Regions from separate parts of the Homo sapiens genome. Here region 1 is linked to region 2. Evidence: promoter capture Hi-C in 16 types of primary human blood cells and fetal thymus (Javierre and others, 2016). All regions are on one chromosome and are shown on one strand. Each heading gives the region's core, a stretch centred on a gene start or on the middle of the fragment in contact. The rest is flanking DNA. Distances are from core to core; before and after follow the strand shown. Region 1 overlaps RNMT (RNA guanine-7 methyltransferase). Region 2 holds the start of AFG3L2 (AFG3 like matrix AAA peptidase subunit 2).

Region 1 (6,035 bases), core at 482-2,981, 1.4 Mb after region 2:
CTCTTCAACTTTATTTAAAAAAGAACTTAATTGTGGAATGTTATTGAGTATGTTTAATATGTTAGCTTGAGATTTTAGTTAACAGTTTGGTGATTTTAGTATAATCAAAAAGATAATAAAACAAAAGATTTGTTTTAAATGCTAAACAAGACCTAGCGGTCTTCTTTTTTTTTTTTTTTTTTTTTTTTTTGACTTAAATTGCCTAATGATGGTAAACCTAAGTCATCAGTTTAATATCTAATTTTTTAAAAGATTATTTATTGAAACAGTATTGGATGAAATAGAATCTGAAAATGTGTGGGGGTTTTGAGATGCCTTTTTGCCATTTCATTAAGAAATTTAACAGAAATAAGCTTTTTGTGTGGCAAAACTTATTCAAATTGGGCCTCAATTCTTTGAATCATGATTTTTTTAGGTGTAAAACTTGGTTTCATTTCTAAAGGGTTATTTTAGAGATTTACAAACGAAAATGAACTGCCTGGAATAAAAAACTTGGTTTCATTTCTAAAGGCTTATTTTAGAGATTTACAAAAGAAAATGAACTGCCTGGAATAAAAAACTTGGTTTCATTTCTAAAGGCTTATTTTAGAGATTTACAAAAGAAAATGAACTGCCTGGAATAAAAGACTTAATTTTGCTCATGTTGCCTTTCCAAGGAGGATTAATTGAAGTAACAGAATCCTGCCTTACGTATACCTCTTACATAGAAACCTCAGTGGCCCTCCAGTGTTTGCCCTTACCCTATCCCCTCAAATGCCACCCTGTACACGAGCCTTCCCACCTAATTTTCAGGGTTTCTCCCCTTCCTTCCACTCTTCCTTTAACTGCTGCCTGAAGTCATCTCCAGGCTCCCTCTTGTTGTCTACAGATACATGATTATAAACTTGGCAAATGCAGTGAGGAAAAAAACTACCTGAGAGTCTAACGGAGAGACCTAATATAATTAAGATTTAAGGAAGGTGCCTGTAAAGAATCGATGTTTGAGTCAGGATCTAAAGGATGGAAAAGTAGGTGGGCAGCTGAGGACTGGAGGGAAGAATGCTCCTGACAAGAGGACAGCGTGTGTGAGGGCCCAGCAGTGGGAAAGCTAGGCTAGTCCAAGATGTTGAAAGAAGGCCCATCCTGATTTATATCGGGGGCTGTCCCAAAATGAGGCAGCATTCCTTTACAGATGAATGTCTTCGAGACCATGTTCTGTATCCTAAGTGCACTGGAGCCCAGTGGAGGGTGTTAAGGGGGTAGTGACATGACTCAGGTCCGCATTTCTGAAAGCTTAATCTGGCTGCGATTGGAAAATTCATTGAGGGAGAGTAAGAATGGAAGCAGGGGACAAGCAAAGTGAGTTTATGGACTGGTGCCACTGAGTGGTGATGGTGACTGAAGCAGCAGGATGGTGCCAAATGCAGGAGGTAAGAAGTGGACCTATTTGAAATTGATGTTTTCTAGGTAAAATAGAAAGGACTTAGTGATGTGTATTGAGCACAGTGGGTAAAAGAGAAGGGGAGATGGCATGGATCACTAGGTGGATTTACTGAAATGGCAAAGATTGGCAGTAAAAGAGCAGTGATGTTCAGCCTTAGATGTGGGACGTTAGAGAGTGCCAGTGACACATGCAGGTGAAGATTTCTAATAAGCAGTAGAATCCATGAGTGATGAGAGACAGCTGAACTACCGATAGCTGGGGGGTGGAAGTGAGTAGGGCTCTGGACTGTACTCTACAGAACCTTGAAGTTTAGAAGTTGGGTAAAAAAAAACCTGTAAGTGAAAAGGAAAAAAAAAAAACCTGCAAAGAAGCAGTTCATGATGTAGGGGAAAAATTAATAGTGTATCTTGCCAGAGAAGTCGAGATGAAAGTGAATCTTTAAGAAGGAAGTTGGCAGCTGTTTGCAGTGCAGCTGTGAGAGATCAAGTAAAGTGAAATGGAATCAGTAGAAAAGAGTTTCCTACACTTTTTCCGCATCTCACAGCTCCGGAGACTCTCATTTACTTCCTGACCTTTATGTTATACTAATAGAGCCCTCTGAAACCCCTGAGATTTAGAATGCATGTTTCTTTTAGGTGTGATATGTTACTCTTGATTCATTTTGTATTACTGTATTGTGAATTTATCAAGGGAGTGGTAGCTTTTTTAGTTAAGTCCAGAAGATGTCATTGCTGTACAAAAGTAAGTTGAGGAATTACAAACATGTGGAAGCTTTTTCATTAAGTATTCTTTTTTGGACAGAATGGCAAAGAAGTACAATATGAAACTAGTCTACAAAAAAACATTTCTGGAATTCTACGAAGAAAAGATTAAGAACAATGAAAATAAAATGCTCTTAAAACGAATGCAGGCCTTGGAGGTGAGTATTTAGAAAAGATGTACAAATTTCAGTCATGGTGAACTTGTTTGGCTGTTCTTGAGATCCTTGCAAGGCCATCTGAACATGAAATAGTTATGTGTATTACGCTCTTCAGCACCTAGGACGGAGCTTGATACAGAAACTGCATGGTGAGTGCTCAGTAAATACTTGATGAAAGAATGAGTACTGGTGTTACCAAATTCTGTTTTCTAGGATAGTACTGCTTTAAAATAGGATTTCTCAGCCTCAGGACTGTTGACATTTTGTTCTGGATAATGCCTTGCTGTGGGATGCTGTGCATTGTAGGATATTCAGTAGCATTCCTGGCTTCTACGCACTAGATGCCTTCCAGTAACACTCTTGTCCCCAGTTACGATAACCAGAAAACTCTCTCCAGACATTGCCAAATGTCCCCTGGTGGACAAAATTGCCCCAAGTTGAGAACCAGTTCTTTACAACAGTGCCTTTTGGTTACGACAGTAATTTAGAACCTTCCTGGCCAGTGTCCAGACAAGCTCAAACCATACATAATTTTATTGCATGGTAATTCTTTAGCAGGGTTCCAGTCTTTTAGACTGTGTTGTTGCTGAGACCTCTCCTGTCCTAATGCAGCAGTGAAGGTATCTATATAAGCTTCAATTACACAGCCATTGATTGTTTTTCCTTTTTCTCCTTACCAGACAATGTTTGGTTGGACAGACCTAAAATATTCAGTGAGCATTTTTATTATTGATCAGTAGAATCATATTCATCAAATGGACATTAAACTTCCTTAGAGAGTTTATTCAGTTTAAGTACTTTAAGCATACTCTGACTTCTTTATCCTTATAATTACCTCCATGAAGTAGGCAGAATGGTAACTTTTCACTAATTTTTTTCCTATTTTTTTTTTTTTGTTGTTAATGACAGGATCTCGCTCTGTTGCCCAGGCTGGAGTGCAGTGATGTGATCACAGCTCACTGAGGCCTTCACCTTCTGGAAGGTGATCCTCCCACCTGAGCCTCCTGAGTAACTGACTACAAGCGTGTGTCACCACACCTGTCTCAGTTTTAAACTTTTTGTGCTGATGAAGTTTTGCTGTGTTGCGCAGGCTGGTCTCAAACTCCTGGCCTCATCAAGCAATCCTCCCGCCTTGGCCTCCCAAAGTACTGGGATTACAGGTGTGAGCCACTGCACCTGGCCAGTTTTCACATTTTTTTAGTGGGCAGCCTGAGGCTCAGAGGATAATGACTTGCTCAAGGCATACTAACCTTTAGATTTTCTTCAGTTTTTGTAGATGATACTCAAACAGAAGTCTCCTGTTGAAGTTGCACCTGCACCCAGCCACTCCCACAATGTTGAGTGGGAGGACTTTTTATAAATTCTAAATTGTCTTTTAAGAGACATAATCAGTAAAATTTCATATTCCTCATTAGTTATATTTCCTATACTTTAGATCTAAGAATGTTTTTATTGGCTTTATATTAGGAATGGATGCTTGTTTTGTTTGTCTTAAGGAAGAGGAGAAAACTAGCAAAACTATGTGTGGATAAGTCCCCCTGTCCCACATATACAGCATATCTTTAGCATATTGCCTTTATTTGATGGTGCTTTGCATGATAGTGGTCAATTATTTAGCCTTTCTCTTAGCATATGGGTAGTGAATTCACTTGTGTAATGTATGTCAAAATCTACTTAGGTATGGTAGGGTATGGGATAACAAGAATTTTATGGCATGTTATTTCAGTGAATAATGCAGTCCATGATGGGAACTGCAGTATTGAAGCATTCCAAGTGCAGTGAGTATATAAAGGGCCTTTTGGGAAGGAAGAAGATTGGTAGAGGACAGGCAGAGAAACCAGAGTGCACAGGAGATGTTTGAGGAAGTAGTGCTAATGGCCTTCACAGTTCTTCAGCAGTCTTCCTTCTCTCCCAGTACTGCACTTGGGGATATGACCTGTTACCATGGCTGTCTGGGGACAGAAGCAGTAATAGCATGTAGTTTGAAAAATCCTTTGGTTTTCCTACTTCTTGACCAAGTCACTCTGGTGGGCGTGTAAAGGACTTGGAGCAGGAAAGGACATGACCAGATAAGAGTTAGGACACTACTTGGGTGGCATAATGGGGGATGGTTTGGAGGGACTTTGAGACCAGACCAGAGGTGGAAAGAGCAGTCGGATGCCACTGCTTTCGACCAGGTCAGAGGTTTAAATGGATCTGTTTCTTGATATTTGTCCCAAAAAGTCTTTTCCTGAAGCATCCAGCTTTTATCTGGGTTCAGCACTAGAACCAGTACAACTTTTCTGCTTTCCTGGAGCGTTGGAACAGAGAGAAGAAAGAATGAAAAGATGTAGGCCATGGAACTGTAGGTCCTGACACCTGTTTTCTTTTTTTCACCAGCAAACATATTCTAGGGACAGTTCTGGAAAAGTAACTCCTTTTAGAGGAGACACTAAGATATATATGTTTTAATAAGTTTTGGTCCCGGCATGGTGGCTCATGCCTGTAACCCCAGCACTTTGGGAGGCCAAGGCGGGCAGATAACCTGAGGTCAGGAGTTGTAGAGCAGCCTGGCCAACATGGTAAAACCCCGTCTCTACTAAAAATACAAAATTAGCCAGGTGTGGTGGTGCATACTTGTAATCCCAGCTACTCAGGAGGCTGAGGCAGGAGAATCACTTGAACCCGGGAGGTGGAGGTTGCAGTGAGCGAAGATCACGCCACTGCACTCCAGCCTGGGTGACGAAACTGAAACTCCATCTCAAAAAATAAAATCAATTTTAAAAAATAACGATGTTTTACAGCTTTATAATCATGTATTGGTTGGTCTTTCAAAATGATCAGTAGAGAAGAGAAACTGGGTGTCCAGTGATAAGCAGATAATCACATGGAGGATAAGTTGAAGAACAAGTTTACAACAAAATAGTTTGACAGGCATTCAAAAACGAAGTTCTGAAGCTTTGTGATATGGTAAAACTACAATATGTGGAATTAAAGTTCAAAAAAAACTGATTGGTAATCTGTTCTTTCTTAGAGCCCTTTGTTGGGATGTGATACAAAGTAAAGTGGTTTATGCTAATGATACAGCAGTCTCAAATAGCTGAGTACTTCTAAAACAGCAAATAAATAGGTTAATTTCTAATGCCTAAACTTGCTGCAGGATGTTTATAAAGAAAAGAGACAAAGAAGATTGCAAAGCAGATATTCATAGATCATTTTCTTAAAAGTTTATTAGGGAGTTGTACGTTTAAAGTGCCTCCTTTCTAGCTGGTTTGTTGCAATAAGACAAAGAATTATAAAGAATTATAAATGAATTATTAAAAACATAAACTTTGTAGAGTAGATGGTTCTATTAAATGTTTTATGTAATTTATTATGTTTTGATTTGCATGTATCTGGTTTGTTTTTTGGTGAGAGAGTTGGGGAGACAGAGTCTCGCTCTGTCATCCAAGCTGGAGTGCACTGACACCATCTTGGCATCTTGGCACACTGCAACCCCTTCCCCCCGACCCTTCTCCCCCAGCCTCACCTAAACCCGGCCTAAGTGATCCTTTCACCTCCCCCTTCTGAGTAGCTGGGACTACAGGCACGTGCCACCACACCTGGCTACTTTTTGTATTTTACGTAGAGACAGGATGTTGAAATGTTGCCCAGGCTAGTCTCGAACCCCTGAGCTCAAGTGATCTGCCTTCCTCGGTCTCCCAAAGTGCTGGG
Region 2 (6,116 bases), core at 1,032-3,531:
CTCGGGAGGCTGAGGCAGGAGAATTGCTTGAACCCTGGAGGCGAAGGTTGCAGTGACCCAAAATCACACCACTGCACTCCAGTCTGGGCGACAGAGCGAGACCCTGTCTCAAAAAAAAAAAAAAAAGAAAAGAAAAGAAAAGGGATCAGAGCTTGGTAAAACAGGGAAATGGATACAGGAAACCGAAAAAGGACCTACCACACGGCAGCGTGGCGTGACCATGGCGAAGAAATTGATTTAAGACTGGCAAGGGAGCCTCAAGGAGTAAAAATCATGAATGCAGGCACTATTATTCCCCCTCCCCACCCCCGCTCTTTTTTTTTTTAGGAGACAGAGTCCGTCACCCACGCTGGAGTACAGCAATGCAATCAAAACTCACTGGAGCCTCAACCTCCCGCGCCAAGCAACCCGCCTTGGCCCCCCGAGTTGCTGGGACTATAGTCATAAGTCACTGAGCCCAGGTAAGAAAAAAAAAAAAAAAACAATTTGTAGAGGCCAGGAGCTGTGGCTCAGGTCTGTAATTCCAACACTTTGAGAGGAGGAGGCGGGAGGATCGCCTGGGTCCTGGAGTTCCAGGCCAGCCTGGGCAACTGGGCAAGATGGTGAACCCTATCTTTTGGGACGGAGTCTCGCTCTGTCGCCCAGGCTAGAGTGCAGTGGCCCGCTCTTGGCTCACTGCCAGCTCCACCGCCCAGGTTCACGCCATTCCCCTGCCTCAGTCTCCCGAGCAGCTGGGACTACAGGCGCCCGCCACCACGCCCGGCTAATTTTTTGTATTTTTAGTAGAGATGGGGTTTCACCGTGTTAGCCAGGATGATCTCGATTTTCTGACCTCGTGATCCACCCGCCTGCTGGGATTACAGCCGTGAGCTACCGCGCCTGGCCTCTCCAGAAACTTTTTAAAAATCAACCACGGTGCTGTAGTCCCAGATACTCCGGAGGCTGAGGCGGGAGGATCGCTTGAGTTTGGGGCTGCAGTGAGCTGTGTTTGCGCCGCTGCACTCCGGCCTGGGCGAAGAAGCAAAACCCCGTCTCTTAAAAAATAAAAATAAAAATAAAAATCGTAGATCGGAGGGTCTGCTACCCTACCCAAGCTGGTTTCCAACTCCTGGAGTCAAGCGATTCTCCCGCCTCGGCCTCCCTAAGTGCTGGGATCGCAGGCGTGAGCCCCGGCACTAGCCTATCTCCCCTTACAGTGAAGACGTTGAGCTGACTACAAGGGCGCTGGGATAGCAGGAGGCCAAGCCAGGTTCCCGTGGCCGACCCGGGGACCTCAACCACCACCCGTACACCAGTGCAAGGCTGAGGAACCGTGTCACTTAAACAGTGAGAGCGACTATTCGACACGTGAACCTTTCATTGAGACTGATCACGGCCATGGTTCTGTCAACACTCTATCATTATGTCAGAAACACGTATCAGGTCCCGTGTGTGTATCTAGAGGGATGGCTACCAACAGAGAAAGAGCCTCCTGCTGAGAGCAGGCCCTGATATGCAACGAACACAGAGTCCCTGCTATGAAAAGGTGACATTCTTAATAATAATAGCTAATACTGCCAGTCCTGGAATGCCCGCAATGGCCCCATTCAACAGACGGGAACACGGAGACTCGGAGAGGTTAGGCAGCCCGACTCCAAAACCCGTCCTTGCGACTACATCGTGCTCGTGCTGCTGACTCAAAATTACAGACGCCTTCGTTCCGTGCTCCGGGGACACGAAAGCGGGGACAAGGACGGCCACCAAGCCAACATGACCTTCGAGGCTTCAACCGCCCCGGTGAAGCGCGAAAACCCGGCTCTACTGAAGCTGCGCGTTTTCAAAACTTGAATCCCACAGGCAGGGCTGAGCGCGAATCGGCGCTCCCGGGGCCGGCTGAGAGACAGCGCAGGGCGCCCAGGCCCTCGGCAGGGACGGCCCGCGTGCGGCCGGAGGGCGGGGGCCAGTGACCTTGACGTCCGCTCTCCCGAGCCGGAAGTGGGCCCGAGGCAGGGTGGAGGGCGCCGGGCGCCCAGGTAGGACTCACCGTCCGGAGGCAGGGCTGCTCGCCCGGGCCCACGCCGCCAGGCACGAGGAGCTGCTGTAGGCCGCGGGGCCAGCAGCCGCCCCGGCCCCACAGCCGCAAACAGCGGTGCGCCATGGCCGCCGCCGTGGCCCTCTCGGCCCGGGACGCTGCGCAGGCGCGGGCAGGCGACGACTGGCGGCCTCGGGAAGCGGGCTCGGCTCGGGGAAAGGCCGCCAGGCAGCGAAGCGCGCCGGCGGCTCACGGAGGAGCCCAAGCTCTCAACGCGGCGTCTCCTGCCGCCAGCCCCGCCCCGGCGCGCTGACGTCGGCGTCTCCTCTCCGAGGCCCGCCGCGACCTCCGCCAGTGCAGAAGACAGGACCAAATGGGAGGAGCATGGGGGCGGGACCGGAGGCGGGGGCCGACGGAGCAGCGTTGGGGGCGCGGCAGGAGGCGGGGCCGAGAAGGACCCTGGAGGGCAAGGGGGAGCTAGAGGCGGGGACCGGGCCGAGGGAGGACTCGGGAGGGCGAGCGAGAGCTGGGGGCGGGGCTGATGGCGCACGTGGGGGGCGTGGCTGGAGGTGGGGCCGAGGAAGGACTAGGAGAGCGAGCAGGAGCTGGAGGCGGGGCCGACGGAGGGGTGTGGGGGGCGTGGCTGGAGGCGGGGACTAAGGGGAGACGCGTGACTGGGATCCTGGGCTTCCGAGCCTGGGCAGCCGGGTGGGCCAGCCAGTAGGAGCGAGGGGGAAGTAGCGAAGGCCCCAGCGGCGGCAGATGGAAGGACCCTCCGAGCGCCAGCTGAGTCATGGGGTGGTGCTAGGCTCTGGAGACACCGAAGCACACATTCCTGACCCCTGGGAGGGCGATGCGAAGATTCACAAGCAGCAGGGAATGTTGGGGCTGTGCCGTGCAGCCTGCGCTCTAGGAACCCTGTCGGGGAACTGGTTCTCGGAGAGCAAGTCGAGTCTTCCAGGTAGTGGAAACTACACATTGTTTCCTGTACCGTGACAGCGGAGGAAAAAGGAGAGGTCTTTGAACTGAGGTGGGGGACTTGGGGGTTTTTCTGAGACGGGCTCTCGCTCTGTCGCCCAGGCTGGCGACGCTGGACCTCAGGCAAAGGACAGTAATCCTTGAGAGACAGGAGACAAAACCAGGTGAGTCCTGTGATTACCCCAGTGGCAGTAAAACAATAACAAAAAGATATACCAGATACACCATCATACCATGCTCACACAAAAGAAAACTGAGTAGACAAATAGATTTTAGGGCAAGGAAATTCCAAAGAAAATTAATTGCAGGGAAAAGAATATCACTAAGGATGAAGAGGATCGGGTTTCTTTTCCAGAGACAGGGTCTCAGTCTGTCACTTAGGCTGGAATGCCATGGTGCAATCGTAGCTCACTGCAGCCTCTAACTCCTGGGCTCAAGGGATCCTCCTGCCTCAGCCTCCCAAGTAGCTGGGACCACACACGCTCGACCACACTCGACTTTTTTTATTTTGTGTAGAGTTGAAGTCTCACTTTGTTGCCCAGGCTAGTCTCAAACTCCTGGCTTTAAGCAATCCTCCTGACTCAGCCTCCCAAAGTGCTGGGATTACAGATGTGAGCCACCCACATCTGGCCAAGAGAATTATTATTATTATTATTATTATTATTATTATTATTATAAAGGGGTCAGTTCATCAGTAGGACATAACAACCCTAAACATCTTTGTTCCCATTAACAGAAGCTTAAAATACATGGAGCAAAGACTGACAGAACCACAACTTCCAATTATATTTGGAGATTTCAAATCCTTCTTTTGATAATTGACAGAACAATTAGACAGGAAAATAGTAAGTATATAGAAGACTTAAACACAACCAACTAAATCAAATAGACATTTATAGAAAACTACTCATAACAACAGAATACACATTATTTTCAAGTTTTCACAGAGCACTTATCAAAATAAACCATATTGTAGGCCATAAAAATATTAAGAGGAGTCAAGTCATATAAAACATATTTTCTATCCACAATGAAATTAAATTAGAAATCAGTATCAGAAATAGGCTGAGGTGAGAGGATCACTTGAGCCCAAGAGTTCCAGACAAGCCTGGGCAAAACAAAGACCTCGGCTTCAAAAAAGAAAAAACTAGACAGAAAATGAAGTAAAACCAAAGAACAGAAAGAAGATAAAAGTAAAAATCAATAAAATTAAAAACTAAAAGACATAGAGAAATGAATGAAATCAAAGTGTGTTCTTTGAGAAGATCAATAGTCAGAGCAATCAGGAAAAAAGAAAATGACACAAATTGGCCCAGCACGGTGGCTCATGCCTGTAATCCCAACACTTTGGGAGGCCAAGGCAGGCAGATCACCTGAGGTCAGGAGTTTGAGACCAGCAAGCAGGCCAAAAAAAGAAAGAAAAAGAAACAAGGAAGGAAAGAGAGTGAGAGAAAGAAAGGAGAGAGAGAGAGAGAAAGAAAGAGAAAGAAAGTAAGAGAGAGAGAGGCCGGGCAAGGTGGCTCACGCCTGTAATCCCAGCACTTTGGGAGGCTGAGGTGGGCGGATCACGAGTTCAGGAGTTCAATACCAGCCTGGCCAATATGGTGAAACCCCGTCTCTACTAAAAATACAAAAATTAGCTGGGTGTGGTGGCGTGCGCCTGTAGTCCCAGGTACTCAGGAGGCTGAGGCAGAAGCAGAAGAATCGCTTGAACCCAGGAGGCGGAGGTTGCAGTGAGCCAAGATTGTGTCACTGCACTCCAGCCTGGGTGACAGAGCGAGATTCCATCTCAAAAAAAAAAAAAAAAAGGAACAAAGAAACCCCATCTCTACTAAAAAAAAAAAAAATACAAAAATTAGCCGGGCATGGTGGCAAGCACCTGTAGTCCCAGCTATTCGGGAGGCTGAGATAGGAGAATAACTTGAACCTGGGAGTCAGAGATTGCAGTGAGCCAAGATCGCGCCACTGCACTCTAGCCTGGAATGCGAGACTCCATCTCAAAAAAAAAAAAAAAAGACACAAATTACCAATACCAAGAATGAGAAAGTTGACATGACTTCACATTCTACATATATTAAAATGAAAATAGAATATACGCCAATGAATTTGAACAATGAACTATACAAATTCCTTGTGAAATACAAGTTACCAAAGCTCACTTTTAAGACAACACAAAAAGTCCTACATCTATTAAATAAATTGAATTTGTAGTTAAAAACGTTTCCATGGGTTGGGCGTGGTGGCTCACGCCTGTAATCCCAGTGCTTTGGGAGGCCAAGGCAGGCTGATCACCAGAGGTCAGGAGTTCAAGACCAGCCTGACCAACATGGAGAAAACCCGTCTCTACTAAAAATACAAAATTAGCCAGCCGTGGTGGCACACGTCTGTAATCCCAGCTACTTGGGAGGCTGAGGCAGGAGAATCGTTTGAACCCAGGAGGCAGAGGTTGCGGTGAGTGGAGTTAGCACCATTGCACTCAGCCTGGGCAACAAGAGCAAAACTCCATCTCAAAAAAACAAAAACAAAACAAAACCTTTCCATGAAGGAGACCCCAGGCCTGGATGGCTTAACTAAGAAATTCTACCAAACATTTAAGGAAGAAATAATACCAATTCTAAAGAAGTTCTTCCAGAAAATTAACATGGGGAAGTACTTCTCAATTCTTTCTATGAGGCCATTACCCTAATATTAAAACCAGACAAAGACATTACTGAAAAACAAACTACAAAACAAAACACTATAAGCCTATATCTTCCATGAATATAGTTGCAACAATTCTCAACAAAATATTAGCAAATCAAATCAAACAATGTATAAAAAGAGCTATATACCACAACCAGTGGGATTTATCCCAGATATGAAAGGCTTGTTCCACATCAGAAAATCAATGAATGTAATCCATCAAATCAATAGGCTAAAGAAGAAAAATCGCATGATCAATAGATGCAACAAAAAAAAGCATTTAACAAACTCCAACACCCATGCATGATTAAAACTCTCTGTAAACTAACGAATAGAGGGGAACTTACTCAACTGGATAAATAATTTTTACCAAAAAACCCACAGGTAAGATGGTACTTAGGGATAAGAAAGTAGAAGCACGCCTGTAATCCCAGCACTTCAGGGG

The links. The method cuts DNA at HindIII sites, captures the fragments that hold promoters and counts their contacts. A CHiCAGO score of 5 or more calls a contact.
Region 1: a fragment that was not itself captured here is called in contact with the fragment with the promoter of AFG3L2 in region 2 in 1 of 17 cell types (naive CD8 T cells); the score reaches 6.4 in naive CD8 T cells.

What each region holds. Positions count from the first base shown.
Region 1 is chr18:13,743,996-13,750,030 of GRCh38, forward strand. RNMT (RNA guanine-7 methyltransferase) reads left to right here. Exons shown (of 12, transcript NM_003799.3): 9 at 2,225-2,342. Among named protein-coding and RNA genes, the nearest start is that of RNMT, 20 kb to the left of the region's middle. The HindIII fragment of the contact is 922 bases long and covers 1,271-2,192 here.
Region 2 is chr18:12,374,946-12,381,061 of GRCh38, forward strand. AFG3L2 (AFG3 like matrix AAA peptidase subunit 2) reads right to left here and starts at 2,282. Exons shown (of 17, transcript NM_006796.3): 1 at 2,024-2,282. The coding sequence starts at 2,137. RefSeq lists a silencer at 1,847-2,746 and enhancers at 2,519-3,050, 3,051-3,580. The HindIII fragment of the contact is 9,454 bases long and covers 1-3,726 here.